2 separate regions of the Homo sapiens genome follow, and region 1 is linked to region 2. The links are contacts of gene promoters, found by promoter capture Hi-C in human tissues and cell types (Jung and others, 2019). All regions are on one chromosome and are shown on one strand. The core of a region is centred on a gene start or on the middle of the fragment in contact, and the rest is flanking DNA. Distances in the headings are between cores, read along the strand shown.

Region 1 (2,700 bases), core at 155-2,654, 240 kb after region 2:
AATGTAATTTCAATCAAAATACCAATGAGATTTTTAAATAGAAGTCCATATGCTGGTTCTAAAATCCATTTGGAAATGAAAGTACACTGGAACACTCCAGAAGTATAGAAGAATGAAAAAGAAAGAATGAATGAAAGAAGGAGAGAATGAGGATGGGAGACAGAAGGAGGAAGGGAGAAAGAACAAGAACTTGAGAAGACCTCGAAAAAAATCAATGGAGAGACTAGAGTACACATATAGAATATGTCTGCCTTGCAATGACAGAAAACCCAACCCAGCTCACTTAAGCACAAAAGGATCTGGGTTGTCAGTTAAAAGTTTTGTGGGCATAGGGGTAACCTGGCTCTAGACATGATGGGGTACAGCAGCTAAAGGGCAACAGCAGTTGCCTCAGCTCAATTCCACTGGCCTTGGTGTGTTGGTTTCATTTTCATATTTGTTTTCACCTTGTGGCTGTGTGACAACTGTAGCCACGTCTGGCCTCTCCCTTTTAAGTTCCACAAGAATAGTTAACACTCTTCCAGTCACTCAGAAAAATGCCAGGGATAAGCTCTGATTGGGTGTAATTGGCCGGCTGAGTCACATGGCCAGCCCTGGGCCAATGGCAGTGCCAGGACAATGAGATGCACAAATTGGCTCAAGCCTTGGTTCTTGTTCCTGCTGGGGATGGGGAAAATCAGACATGGTTACCAGAAGGATGAATGGAGGCCAGGAGCAACAACAACCCCGTGTCTACTCTATGGACTCAGGTATAAGTGCTTACTTCACATATGATGAAAACCATAGTTCCAGTAAGGGGGAAATGTGGCTATTCCATAAATAATGTAGGCCAGCCTGGTGCAGTGGCACATGCCTGTGGTCCCAGCTACTTGGGAGGCTGAGGCAGGAGGACTGCTTGAGGCCAAGAGGTCAACACCAGCCTGAGCAACATAGCAAGATCCCATCTCTAAAATAATAATAACAAATAATAATAAATGTGGGCCAACTGGATATCCATTTTGGAAAAAAAAAATACACTATCTCATGTCATTCACAAAAGTTTATTCCAGATGAATTAAAGCATTAAACATAAAAGACAACACTGTAGAAATATTCAAAGAAAACATAGGAAAGAGATCTAGAACCTTGGGTAGGGAAGGCTTGCTTACACAAGTCAAAAAACACACCATGTATAAATTGAACAACTTCTCTATGAAAAAATACACTAAAAACGTTACAAGACCTGAGACAAACTGGGAGAAAGAACTGACTGTATATCTATCTACCTACCCACAAAACAAATTATATTAAAATTTTATGCCTGTTAATTAAAAAAAGACAATCTAGCAGAAAAATGGGCATATACATAACAGAATAAATTCAAATGGCCAGTAAACATATGAAAGGATGTTCCAACCTCATTACTAATCTGGAAAAGTCGAGTTAAGGTAAAAATAAAAGACTTTCTTTCTTATCAGATTGGCAAAAATTAAAAGGATTGGCGACCTCAAATGTTAAGGCAGGAATGGGGAAATGGATACTTTCATAAACTGTGAAAGGCTATGAGTGTTTAATTCAGCTTAGATGCCGTCATTTAGTTCAAAGAAAGAATAACAATTACTTTTGAAGGGCAAAGACACTGTGCAGGTTTGTTGATGGTGAGGTGGGCGGATGTGGGAAAAGGAAAGAATAGCCAAGAGGGGGTGCAAAGTGAAACTCAGAAGGCCCATAGATAATCTACCAGTGTGACTCAGAGAACACAAGCCATTTCCCATTCTTGTGGCTGTAGAGGGGAACCTCTTGAAAGTACACAGGGGTTTAAATAACATCAAGTCAGAGAACCACAAGAATTTGACGGAGGGCTTTCAAAGTCATCATGCTTTCCCCTTAGTCTCCTCCCCGAGTCACCCCAGCCTGGGCACTCTTCCAGGATCTACCTTTCTCTCCTCTCAACCTGTCATCGAAAATGGCAGAGAGGATTACCATATCCAGCCCTGAAACAAGCAAGGATTTGGCATCAGACACGGGTATCTCTAGCTGTAAAATAACACCTTGTGGTATTGTTGGAGGGTTGAACGAGATGATGACTGTAAAAGAAACCAGATATAATGCTTGACAAAGTAAGTAATCTAATAAAGGACATCATAAAATAAGCAAAGGTTATTGATCTGAAGCTAGGTCAGCTCCAGCATAGACTGAGACACACAGGAATGGAGAGGACAGGCTCTAAGACAGCATGTATATCTAATGGTATTTTAAAGCTAAAAAATAAATGCAACATATATGATAAAGTTATCATCTTAACAAATCAATAGGAAAGGGGTCAAGTGTGGTGGCTCACCCTGTAATCCCAACACTTTGGGAGACTGAGGTGGGAGAATCACTTGAGCCCAGAAGTTCAAGACAAGCCTGGCCAACATAGTGAGACCCCATCTCTACAAAAAAAAGAAAATTCAAAAATTAGCCGAGTGTGGTGGCATATGCCTATAGTTCCAGCTCTGGAGGCTGAGGTGGGAGAATCACTTGAGCCTAGGAGGTCGAGGGTGCAGTGAGTTATGATTGCACCACTGCACTCTAGCCTGGGTGATAAAGTAAGACCCTGACCCAGAAGCAGCATAGAATTTAAAAAAGAAAAAGAAAAGAAAAGAAAGAGAAAGGGAGAAAGGGAGAAGAAAAGGAGAAAGGCAGAAAGAAAGAAAAAGAGAGAGAGAGAAAGAAAGA
Region 2 (2,700 bases), core at 176-2,675:
ATTTAATTCAGCTATTTATTCATCCTGATCATTCATCCAAAATAAAAGGTGGTTGGCCAGGCGCGGTGGCTCACGCCTGGAATCCCAGCACTTCGGGAGGCCAAGGCGGGTGGATCACCACAGGTCAGGAGTTCAAGGCCAGCCTGGCCAACATGGAGAACCCCGTCTCTACTAAAAATACAAAAATTAGCCGGGCGTGGTGGCGTGCGCCTGTAATCCCAGCTACTCAGGAGGCTGAGGCAGGAGAATCGCTTGAACCCAGGAGGCAGAGGTGGCGGTGAGCCGAGATCATGCCACTGCACCCCAGTCTGGGCAACAGAGTGAGACTCCGTCTCCAAAAAAACAAAACAAAACAAAACAAAATAAAAGGTGGCAAAACGCTCAGCTACCAAAAGCAAGCATCAGAGGTGAAATCTACACACTGGGATCCTTTGGACTAAAAAAACGGAGACAAATGCCTTGGAACCAGGAGGATGTCTGCAAAAGGCTCACCAACATCAGAAGGTCTGTGCTAGGCATCTTCCTCTTCCAGCCTCCTCTCCGCGCTCCCCTTTTTCAGACTCTGTAAAAGGGAACCAGGTTTGTTTACTTCTAGAGCTTTAAACTGTCTCGCCAGCCCGCCTAGATTCGCCAGAGCAGCCAAGTTATGGTTCTCTCCCTCCTTTGAAGGCTCAGATTTCATTCCCAGATATCACAGTCCACCCCTAGCACCCCAGACCAGCGAATCAAAATCCTGCTGCAACTAGGTTTCCCTCCCACAGCTGATGAAACTAATCCAGACCCAGACTCCCACAAAGCATTCCACCCAGGTGGAAACTAGGGGAAACGCCCCGTCTGCGCGCGATCGGGGTGGGGAGCCCAGCCCAGGCCACCTAACCCGGGCTGAAGGTGCCGAGGCTACCAGGGTCCTGCCTCCTCCGCACTCCCTTCAGAATCAGCACGGCCTCGCTCTCGTTGTCACCCCTCCCGTCGGAGGACCAGCAAATCCTGGCCGCCCATGCCTACCCCGCGGCAGGCGTGGGCTCCAGACCCGCCCCACCGCGGCCCCGCGCCCGCCCGCCGTCCACTTGCTTGGACCTCAGCGGCTGGTGCCCACGCCTTCAGCCCGCCCCCGCCCCCGCCCCGGCCGCAGCCGCCCCGCCGCCTCTGCCCGCCCTCGGCCCACCCGGCCCCTGTCCTCTCCTCACCCCGCGGCGCCTCCGTCCCGACCCTCACCGCCCCCCGGAGCCCGCGGCGGCCCCTCCACCTCCTCACGCCGGAACCAGCTTCCAGTCTCCTTCCCTCGAGCACCCGGCCGGCTCCACCTCCTGCGTCTCCCTCAGCACGCGACGGACTCGCAGGCCGCGAGACCCAGGCTCCCCTGTTGCCGCCGCCGCCGCCGAGATTGGAGGCCCGGCAGCCGCCGGCCTCGCCCCTCCCGGAAATGGCTCCGGGGGCACCGGCCCGGCTCCCGGACCCTGGCGTGCGCGGCCCCGCTGCTACCAGCCGCGCGCACGCCCAGACCCGGGCCCCACGGCCTGTGCGCGCCGCCTACCGGCCAGGCAGCGGGCTGCACCCAGACCCTCCAGTGAATGTCTCAACCAGGCCGTCCTGGGGCGGCTGTGGTATCCCGACGGTCACCAACTTCTCTTCCAAACTGCCTTGGACAAAAAACTTTCTTGTCACATTTGGTCACTTGGAGCCTCCTGAGAGAGTAGGTCTGCAGGGCATTGTACAAACTAATCCAAAACAGCCACAGAGTTGGGTCTCTTTCCTGGGCCAGGGACTTCATTTTTCCATCGAGGTCAGTGGTGCCTGAAGAAAAGCAACAAGGAAACTTATTTAATGGAAATATCATCCTCATCCTCCCCTCCACCACTGCCCCCCCCCACCCCAAAAATAAAATGGAGAGCAGAGGCTACTCTGCCATCACTACTTTCATGAGCAGTGCTGGGAATCACCTTATACACAAGTGCAAGGGCCCACTGGGATCACAAAGGTCGCCTTCATTTCCAGATGAAAAAACTAAGTCTCAGCTGGGTGTAGTGGCTTACATCGGTAATCCCGGCACTTGGGGATGCTGAGGCGGGAGGGTTGTCTGAGCCCAGGAGCTCTAGATCAGCCTGAGCAACATAGTGAGACCCCCAACTCCAAAAAGAAAAAGAAAAAACTAAGTCTCACATAGGTTTCCCATGACTTGTCCAGGTTGTCATAACATTGCTTTAGTGGTAGCAGAAGGCAGTGCAGTTACATGGAACCAACTGGTCAGTGACCTGCATTCAAGATTTTTTTTCAATAGATTTTAAAATGACACCTAGATAGACTCTTGAAATCTCTCAAACAAAAATGACACTAATGAGGGTACCCAATTCCATCCCCTTGGAAAATGTTGCCATGACACTAAAATTAGGGCATCATCACTACCGTCATTATCCACATGTAGTGCTTTCAGGATGAAATGTACTATCACAGCTGCCCTCCTCTGCATACCCCATCGGCACTTCCCACTTCCCCAGCCATAATGGTTAAGGCCCTGAAAGACTATGAACAGGTTATCTTTAGGCCTCCTCACCCCCATTCCGTCAGAACTCCCAGACATTTCTACCATCCAGAGCCCCTGACTCAGGCATGAACACCCCCATACCCTTAGCCCCCTCACTACTATTCCCCAGCAGACATGCATTCTCAGTGTTTGAGGGTCAGAAAATGTTCTGGGGCCTC

What was found. The method cuts DNA at HindIII sites, captures the fragments that hold promoters and counts their contacts. A contact is called where the count stands out against the background at its distance.
Region 1: a contact is called between a fragment that was not itself captured here and the fragment with the promoter of SGPL1 in region 2, in 2 of the 25 tissues and cell types used here (IMR-90 fibroblasts and mesendoderm cells).

The regions. Positions count from the first base shown.
Region 1 is chr10:70,577,626-70,580,325 of GRCh38, reverse strand. No RefSeq gene overlaps it. Among named protein-coding and RNA genes, the nearest start is that of PRF1, 24 kb to the left of the region's middle. The HindIII fragment of the contact is 7,004 bases long and covers 1-2,700 here.
Region 2 is chr10:70,814,673-70,817,372 of GRCh38, reverse strand. It overlaps SGPL1 (sphingosine-1-phosphate lyase 1), which reads right to left and starts at 1,425. Exons shown (of 15, transcript NM_003901.4): 1 at 1,247-1,425; 2 at 493-562. The coding sequence starts at 519. RefSeq lists silencers at 1,010-1,119, 1,200-1,289, 1,310-1,629. The HindIII fragment of the contact is 13,423 bases long and covers 1-2,700 here.